3 separate regions of the Homo sapiens genome follow, and all the other regions are linked to region 3. The links are contacts of gene promoters, found by promoter capture Hi-C in human tissues and cell types (Jung and others, 2019). All regions are on one chromosome and are shown on one strand. The core of a region is centred on a gene start or on the middle of the fragment in contact, and the rest is flanking DNA. Distances in the headings are between cores, read along the strand shown.

Evidence for each region. The method cuts DNA at HindIII sites, captures the fragments that hold promoters and counts their contacts. A contact is called where the count stands out against the background at its distance.
Region 1: a contact is called between a fragment that was not itself captured here and the fragment with the promoter of FGFBP1 in region 3, in 1 of the 25 tissues and cell types used here (spleen).
Region 2: a fragment that was not itself captured here is called in contact with the fragment with the promoter of FGFBP1 in region 3 in 7 of the 25 tissues and cell types used here (H1 embryonic stem cells, dorsolateral prefrontal cortex, heart left ventricle and 4 more).

The regions. Positions count from the first base shown.
Region 1 is chr4:15,873,707-15,877,105 of GRCh38, forward strand. No RefSeq gene overlaps it. Among named protein-coding and RNA genes, the nearest start is that of FGFBP1, 63 kb to the right of the region's middle. The HindIII fragment of the contact is 3,755 bases long and covers 1-3,321 here.
Region 2 is chr4:15,900,171-15,903,395 of GRCh38, forward strand. No RefSeq gene overlaps it. Among named protein-coding and RNA genes, the nearest start is that of FGFBP1, 37 kb to the right of the region's middle. The HindIII fragment of the contact is 6,221 bases long and covers 1-3,225 here.
Region 3 is chr4:15,937,095-15,940,305 of GRCh38, forward strand. It overlaps FGFBP1 (fibroblast growth factor binding protein 1), which reads right to left and starts at 1,646. Exons shown (of 3, transcript NM_005130.5): 1 at 1,593-1,646; 2 at 1,157-1,377. The HindIII fragment of the contact is 13,154 bases long and covers 1-3,211 here.

The sequences.
Region 1 (3,399 bases), core at 194-2,693, 64 kb before region 3:
AATTAGCTTTCTAAAAGGAATAGAGCAAAGCAAAATAATACAAGATAATACAGCAGGAGGGAAATAACCTTCTTACTATTTTGTTTAAGGACATCCAAGTTTTCAAATCTTATCTCTTTTTTAACTCAGAGAGAATTGTGCTTTCATTTTGTTAATCGTTGCAGACGTCCAAGGCCCAGGCAGCCACTTCACTCAAATACAGGAGAGAATAAAAGGAACAGAGGCAGTCTCCTCCTCTACCTCCAGGGCTCTTTTTCTTGTCAATATTTTAATTAGTTTTGTTTATGTTCCGGGAACACCTTTTACACCAACAAACCACTCTACCCTGCAATGGAAGTTACGCAGAACATTTTAAAAGTTGTTATTCATTGATATGGTTTGGATCTGTGTCCCCACCTAAATTTCATGTTGAAGTAATCCTCAATGCTGGTGGAGGAGTGGTGGGACTGGTGGGAGGTGATTGGGTCATGGGGGCGGTTTCTCATGGTTTAACACCATCCTTCCTTGGTGCTGTCATCACGAGTGAGTTCTCGTGAAATCTGGTTGTTAAAAAGTGTGTAGCACCTCCCCTCTCTCTTCCTCCTGCTCCTGCCATGTGATGTGCCACTCCTCCTTTGCCTTCCGCCATGTTTGGAAGCTTCCTGAGGTCTCCCCAGAAGCAGAAGTTATAAGGTTTCCTGTACAGCCCGTGGAACCACGAGCCAATTAAACCTCTTTTCTTTATAAGTTACCCAGTCTCAGGTATTTCTTTATAGCAGTGTGAGAATAGGTTAATACATTCATTTTACATAATCTTAATGGTCTGAGGTAGAAAAAAGGCCAGGCTAACATGGATTAACATGGATTAATGCAATCTTCTAAATTAACGGGATACTTTAGTGCTTTTTTCTTTTTCTGGTTAGGTACATGTTATTCAGATATTTTTAGGCCAATAAACATTAAATATCATCTGATTTAAACAACATGTTTTATGAATTTGGGAACTGAGGCCCAAAGAGAATAAAAAACATACCCAAGGCCTTATAGTTTCTCAGTACAAAGAGCAACCTCTACAAACTCAGTGTGTTTGTTTCAAACCTAATTCATTATCTTCTCCAGGCACACGCAATGTTCATCCTCCTGAATTCCCAATCCCTGGAGACTAGAACCGGGTGGGGCTCTATGCTCCTGCAGAGTCCCGTTTCCCTGGCTTTCTGTGTTGGCTGGCTGGTGCTGTGCACTTTCCTCTATCCTTCTTACCCTGAGAAACACGGTGATCTGTTGCCCCAATTTAAGGAATGGATTTGATCCTGTTACTTAGTTTTGCCAGTTAATGCTTGAAAAATATTCATAGCTGGCTGGGCACAGTGGCTCCTGCAGGTAATCCTAGCACTTTGGGAGGCCACAGGAGAAGGATCCCTTGAACCCAGGAGTTCAAGACCAGCCTGGGCAACATAGCAAGACTCCATCTCTATTTTTAACAGAAAGAAAGGAATATGCGTTGCTGTAACAGCTATTTTGAATAAGCGTAGCCTGTGGGAAGTGGTTGCAAAGCAACTTGATGCTGGCTTGTCACTGCCCCTTCACTTGTGTGCACAGGGCTGTTGTTTTCTTGCCCCTGGATGAGAATTCAGGCAAGGCCCATGACATTTTTTTTTTTTTTTTTTTGAGATGGAGTCTTGCTTTGTTGCCCAGGCTGGAGTACAGTGGTGTGATCTCAGCTCACTGGAACCTCTGCCTCCTGGGTCCAAGCGATTCTCATGCCTCAGCCTCCCAAGTAGCTGAGACTACAGGTGTGCACCACTATGCCTGGCTAATTTTTGTACTTTTTGTAGAGAACAAGTTTCACTATGTTGCCCAGGCTGGCCCCAAACTCCTGAGCTCAAGCGATCCGCCTACCTCGGCCTCCCAAAGTGCTGCGATTACAGATGTGAGCCACCATGCCCAGCTCTGCTTACCCTTCTTAACTCCTGGGAAATTGGAGCTTCAAATGTTCTACAACGTTGCCTTTGGCTTCCCTAAAGACCTTTTTGGATGGGACCTGGGAAGTCTTATGCTGATTTGCTCTGATTTCACCCGTATTTGGTTCATGTGACACACTCAGGCATCCTTTGCTCCAGTGAACACCAGAACACCAGCAAGTTCCCTCACAGACACTTCTCCTCTAGCCTCAGCTGCCAGCAACTGTTCCACTGACCTTTCAACTTTTAGATTTCTCATGAAGTAATCAGACGGGATATTTTATCCCCCTGCACACCAGGGAAAGGTCGAGCTTTCTGAGTGGCTTTGTGAAAACTCCCCTCTTGACTTGAAGTGAGGTGGGGAGAATGCCTTCCTTCTTTTTTCATGAGTCTCTTGAAACACAATCATGGTGCCAGTATGCTGAGGTCAGGTGGGGGCTCACAGTATAGCTCTCTCAAAGGAAATCCCCTTCACAGGTCCTCCCTTCAATCCCAGCTCTCTGCCCCTGTATGCTGTCTGTATGAGGGCATGTATCTACAGAAAACAGAGGCACACTCAGAAGGGTAATTGAAGAGAACTTAAAGAGGAGTCATTTACCAAATATGTGGGAGGGTTAATGAGACCAGCCAGGGATGGTGAAGCATACAGAAGTAGCAACACTGGGGAGCTGTTACCACCCCCTGGTATGAGTGTACCTGGAACCTGTTGATAGTTTTGGATATTGGAGATCAGCCACCTGCCGAGTGGCCCTAAGTGAGGAAAGCAGCCACCCCAGCCTGGAAGAAAGGAAATGAAATGATAAAAAGGCTTATTCTGGCTGGTGTGTGGCTAAGATTAGAACTCCCACCTGACCTCACCATACTGGCACCATGATTGTGTTTCAAGGGACTCACATAAGCACTCTCTCTTTTCTCCTACTGCACCCCTAGCTCCTGCTAATGCTTCCTATTGGCTGAACCCAACCAAAAGGCAGAGTGCATTGAAGCCTGGAGCATGCAGGCTGTAGAGTTCAATCTTCAAGGGGTGCAAAGAGTTTACAGTAATTCTTTGTTTCCTCATCTTTTGCATATTCTTAGGATTGTGGCATCTGACTCACAATTCCCTTTGGTCTCTTAAATCTATTCTATCTAAATATCTCCATTGAGAGTTCCACTTTACCCTCTTGGGTTATTTGCCATGTCAGTTATATCATCAAGATTTAATCAGAAAACAGAAAATAAAGTAGAAAGATTTCAAATAAACAATCTAATGATGCATCCTAAGGAACTGGAAAGGCAAAAATGAACAAAACCTCAAATTATCAGAAAGAAAAGAAATAATAAACATCAGAGAAGAATTAAATGAAATACAGACCAAAAAATACAAAGGGTCAATAAAAGAAAAAGTTGATTCTTTAAAAAGATAAGCAAAATTGATAAACTACTAGATAGACCAAAAAAAGATGAGGGAAGGCCCATA
Region 2 (3,225 bases), core at 2-2,501, 37 kb before region 3:
TGCAGACACTATGATACCTTGCCCCTAACTGTTCCAGCAAGTATTTCCCAGGAATAATAATATTCTTCTACTAACCACATTATCATAACTAAGAATATTAATAATAATTCTATGATATAATCTACTATAAGGACTATATTCAAATTTCTCCATTTGCCTCAAGAATGTATTTTATAGGCTGCTTTATTAGGATCTAATCAAGTATCATATATTACTTTTGGTTATGTTTCCTTTGTCTGTTTTCACCCAAAGCAGTCCCTTTTGGATTTTTTATGCTTAACATTGCCTTGTGAATAATCTAGCCAATCTATAAAGCCAAACTAAGAATTAGCTGATTCAATAACATACTAAATCTTAGTTTGCCTGGTTGCTGGTTGCTTCCTTCTTTTTTCTCTTTTTCTCTTTCTTTTTCTTTTTTTTTTTTTTTTTTTAGACAGGATTTTCTTCTGTGGCCCAGGCTGGAGAGCAATGGCATGATCTCAGCTCACTGCAACCTCCACTTCCTGGGCTCAAGAGATCTTCCTGCCTCAGCCTCCCGAGTAGCTGGGATTACAGGCATGCACCACCACACCCAGCTAATTTTCCATATTTTTTGTAGCAATGGGCTTTCGCCATGTTGCCCAGACTGGTCTTGAACTCCCGGACTCAAGCAATCCATCCACACTGGCATTCCAAAGTGCTGGAATTACAGGTGTGAGCCACCATACCTAGCCCTGGTTATTTCTTTCTAATATCATTTAAATCATTCCTTTAGTCGCTGTATTTCTTGTAATCTTAGATTCACATTGAACACTTTTGCCCAAAATATTTATATATTAGCTTCCCATTACCACTGTAACATAGTATCACAAATTTAGTGGCCCAGAACAAGACAAATTTATCATCTCACACAAATTTATTCTGATTGGGTCCTCAATCCTGCCATGCAGTGTCTGCTGCTTCTTCCTTCTTCTCCTCCTTCTTCTCTTCTTCTTCCTCTCCTTCTCCTTCTCCTTCTTCTGCTGCTGCTAATGCTTCCTCTTCCATTTCCACTTCCACTTCCACTTCTTCTTCTCTTCTGCTTCTGCTTCTTCTTCTTTTTTTAGAGACAGGGTTTTGTCCTGTCGCCCAGGCTGGAGTACAGTACTGGAAATATGGCTTGCTGCAGCCTTAACCTCCTGGGGTCAAGCCAATCTTCCTGCCTCAGCCTCCTGAGTACTTAGAAGCCCTACACAGGTCTCAGCGGACGAAAATCAACATGTCGGCAGGGCTATGTTCTTTTCTAGGAGTTTCAGGGTACAATCTGTTTCCTTGAGTTTTTTATCTTTTAAAGGCCACCCACATTCCTTGGCTGTAGCCCCATCTTCCATCTTTAAAGCCAGCACCATCATCTCTTTTTGTCCATACACATTTCTCTCTGACTACAGCTAGGAAAGGGTCTTCTCTTTTAGGGGTTCATGTAATTAGATTGAGCCCAACTAGATATTCAAGATGCCATCCCCATCTCAAGTCCCTTACCTTGATATGGAAATTTTCTTTGGTCGTGGAAGATAACATATATGTAGGTTCCAGGAATTAGAACATGGACACCCTTGTTGGGGACTGAACAGTATTCTGCCTCCAGCTTCATAGGGGATACTTTTTATGTCATCTTGCTGAGAAGTCCATTAGGAAACTGTCATCTTTTAGTGAGGCCAAATTCAGGGCATTTAAGTGTAAATTGGAGAGGGAGGCAGTTAACCAAGCTGTGGGTCTCAGAACTACCTCAAAGTGGCAGGGAGGGGATTTTAAAAATGTAGCTGTCAGAGCCTCATAACAGAGATTCTAATTCATTAGGTCAGGCCTGGCAGCTGCCATATTTGCCATCCAGAAGTGGGTGATTCACACCTGCACAAGCCTGGAGCCCATCCCTGAACAACCAGGCACCTGTAGTCCCAGCTACTAGGGAGAGATAACAGGTGGAGGCTCATTTTCTTGATCCCCTTCTGAAGTTGGCCTCTCAGGGACACCTCGCTGGTGGAGTCTTTTCCCAATTTGTCAAAAGTCATCAGCAAGAATGAAAGCACAGATGACAGTCAAAGCGAATGAATTTTCTAAGGGAAGTGGTTACTGACAGATTTCCTTTCTCAGGGTTGGTGGATTTACTCATCTTGGTCAAAGGCAAGGAAAAGGTGGGTAGCAACATCTATTTGCCAACTTTTATGGCAATATTTAGTATTTAAATTATATGGATAGATTTTGTTAACAATTTTTTAAATTAAAACGGCAATACATGAACGTTAAAATTTTTTAATGCAGATGTGTATAAAGTAAAAAGACTTTCCCCCCAGTTATCCTCTTTTAAACAGCTACTGTTATATTTCTTTCTAGTAATATATTGTGTATATAACAAACATACTTATATAGACATGTCCATATTTTTCTTATACAATTGAGAACATCTTGCACACACACTGTTCTGTATTTTGCCTTTTCCCCTTGGGCCTGATTTTATATCAGCCCAAAATATCTTCTGCATCCCTTTTCACAATTGCAAACCTTAGATGGATATCTACGATTTATCTTGCCACTTCCCAACTAATGTTCTTTTAGGTTGTTTCCAGCTTTCGCTATTACAAACACTACTGCAATAACTAATGTTGCATACATGTCACTTACCACATGTATTTTAGGGCAATATCCAGAAATGGATCTTCTGAGTTAAAGGGTTGGCTTATTTAAAAGTTTGAATAGATATTACCAAACTTCTTTCTAAAGAGATTGTGGTAATCATACTACTACTAACAGAGTCGGAGAGTGCCTGTTTCAAAACATCCTCTTTTGTGCCCACACTTAAGCAATAAGAGTCTCAAACTGGAGTCTGTTGCTATTTTTTTTTTCTTTTGAGACAGAATCTCTTTTGTCACCCAGGCTGGAATGCAGTGGCAATCTCAGCTCACTGCAACCTCTGCCTCCTGCATTCAAGTGATTTTCCTGCCTCAGCTTCCCAAGTGGCTGGGATTACAGGTGTGCACCACCACACCTGGCTAATTTTTTTTTCTGTATTTTTAGTAGAGATAGGGTTTCACCACGTTGGCCAGGCTGGTCACAAACTCCTGATCTCAAGTGATCTGCCCACCTTGGCCTCCCAAAGTGCTGGGATTATAGGTGTGAGCCACAGCACCCAGCCTGGAGTCTGTTTTTATAGGTGCCCCTTGTCCAGGGCTCAAGCTTTGTGAGTATAGGGGAAAGAGCACTGGTCTAAAA
Region 3 (3,211 bases), core at 396-2,895:
TCATCTCTGTTTCTGATATGAAACAAGTTACTGCTCCAAACTTTCAGCTCCAAAGGGCTGGATTTCTATCTCATGACTCCATATGGACACAGATGCCCAAAATGAGAAAAGACATGACAGATGCCCAAAATGAGAAAGGATGTGGTAAGCATCATGAAAGGTGATGTTGACCCAGAGTTGAACATGCCTGGGGTTTGGGTGGGGTGGGTGGGGTTGTGGGGGTGGGGGAGCTTTTTGTGGGGAAGTAAGAGTTTAAGGAAAGGTGTGAGGTGGGGTGGTTGTCTGATTTGCCTGGGCAAAGTGAATCAGGGTGGAGAGAGGTGAATTTCAACCAGATAGTTCACACTACAAGATCGAAGACAAGGATCATGAGAAATCATTGAATCAATAGGATGAACACCAACGTCACACTGAACTGCATGAATCTGATCATGTGTACAATAAAAACCCATGCTTAACAGAAGAAGAGAAGTCAGTTTCTATATGACACCTCCTGTGTGCTAAGTACTGGTCTAGGGTTTGATTCCCACCTTGTGAAATCCACACAAGAGCTCTTCCAGGTAGCTATTAATATGTCATCCCAGGTGACAGCTCTGACTCTTAAGGCTCAGACAGGTAAGTAAATTGCTCAGGATCTCATAGTGGGCAAGTTCAAAGCTGGTATGGGTAGCCAGATCAATCTCCTTATTCCTTTCTGTCACCCCTGGTTGATCACTTTTTGCTTTTCACATTTACTCTGCCCTTTAAAAACATTGCCAAAGAATAAGAAAAACAACTATGAACAATGACAATTTAGTTTCATATAACACATAATGATAAGATGATTTGTATTATTTGTGCTCCATTTAAAACAAAACACAGAATTTTTTATAAAAAGAGGCAGACCCAGGAAATGGTCCTGATCTGATTTCTACCCTAGAAGTTGGCCATCTTCTAGGGTTAAGAAGGAGAAAGACAATCACAAAAGGGCAGAGAACAGCAATAAATGGTGAAGAGGAGACTGGATATGCCAGAAAAACACCCAGTCATTTCTCACGGCCCTGGGGCTCAGCCCCCACCTGCCCATGATGGAATGCAGGCCCAAGGAACTCCAGGCCCTTGGTGGAGTGAGAAGTGGCAGCAGGTAATAAAGCTGTTAAAGGAGCGAGGCTCTTACCTTGTTCTGAGCACACGGATCCAGTGCAATCCCAGGCAGTGCGAGTGAATTGCAGGCTGCAGCTGTGTCAGGTAGAGTGCAAGGGGGGTAGACTATTCAACAGGAGCCAGGCTGACTGGGTTTTTATAACACTCACTGGGTTTTTACAACACTGTGGCACGTTACTCACAGCTCCTCCCAGCCACGCCCCTCCGAGGGAGCCGGTTCCTGCAGGGAAAGTGCTGGATGTAATCCAGTGAAAAGGGGGGTTACCTGCATGCCATCAAACGCTTCCTCTAGGCCCTTCCCTGTCCACCCTGTGGCCAGGATAGGAGGACAACTCAGCCTCACAGTGACCCTCCTTGATGGGGAGAGGACCCCAGCAGTGATGTCTATGGAGGAGTAAAATAACTATAATGACATGATCCGAGCTGCCAAACTACTGAGCCCATTTTACCTGAGTTCTCCTTTTCCCTCATCACATCCGCTCTAGTAGGGAGTGCAATGATTCCTCCCCTTTTACAAAAGCAGGAATTGGTTCTGGAGATATGTAAGAGCTTGTCCAAGTTCACAGAGGCAGGAAAAGGAACATCTCAAAATTAAAAGTGAGATTCTCTACATCCATGGTCTGATCTCTTCCTGCCTGCCACTCTCAATAAATCTTTGTTGAATGGGTGACTGAAGTTGCCGAAGTTTTCGTAGTGTCTGAGTTCCTTTTTCCATCTGAAGTTACTACATAAGCAGAGGATACCCTAATTCTAGAGGCAGGGAAATTTACATTAAAAATTCCCTCTTTTTTATCAGGGAATTCTACCAGGCTCTGAGAGGCTGGTAAAGAGGGAATTTTTAATATAAGATTACTGTTGTAAATACTTACCTTCAGGTCTCATTCAGAGAGCTCAGGCTGCCCTGCCTGCTACAGGCACAGTCCCACACCAGAATGACCCAGGTGGAATCCTGGCCACAGCATGTGTTTAGCTGAGTGCTATGCCCAAACCACTTAGCCTCTCCCATCATCCATTTGCAGTGTGCTGACAATAACAACGTCTCCTTTATAGCTGCATACTAAATTTTTACTGGGCTAAGCTGTTAACATAAAGTGGAGCAGAATCGTTTTGCCTCATGACAGGGTCTTAAGTTGTATACTTTGAAAACAGACATTTGTTATTTACATATGCAGCATTTAAAAAGAAACTCACTTCTACAGGGAAGATGTGGCCCTCATTATATATTATCACCTCACCTTTCATAGATTTTCAGAAGAAGAAATTGTTCACTTTTCCTTAATTCAGCCATAAGAAAACTATTGTTTAGTGTGATATTAAATGGCAACTGACTTTTGGGTTTGAGATAAGGCAATAGGGAGTGATGGGGACTGTGGCAAACTAGAGAGTCTCTGCCTCCATAGAGGTCAACACTCATCTCCAATTGACTGAGAAAATGCAGGGATTAGGCTCAGTATTGTCACACTGTCTGATTTTTAAAATGACATCCCCAAATCCAGATGTGTTTATATGAAATTGGTTGGCAGCTAATTAAAATTTTCTAAAAATAAAGCTGTAGCTCAACACTATGCAGGCCAAAACTTGTAACTGTGTTTGGATTTTATGAACGATCCACCTGTTTGAGAATTCCGTGGTCATAGCTATAGATGTTGACCAATTTACTCAGAGGCTCAGTCTCTGCATGAATCTGTTGGAAGAAGCCATTTCTGAAGCTGTGTGCCTCTCTCCTAAAATTGCCTCACCCAGGGGTCCGTCCTCACTATCCTCACAAACACCCCGCTGAGGCCCTGACCTCCACGAACAGGCTCTCTCATGCGGTATTTTGGAGGATTATTTGGACATAGGCAAGGCAAAGCTGCTTTGCTCAACAAGGGGAGTCTCCTACAAAATGGAAAATTCTACTTGATCCTTGGGAGGCAGGCAGATTCTTTCTGGAGGCAGATTGCAGTTGGAACACAAAACATATTTACAAGGAAACATGTGGACTCCGGGGTCTTTCTGGGAAGTGCTTCTCTGAGCTTTGCCAGGTAACACTGCACATTCCCCACTGGCTCCTTGTGGCCCTTCCCCT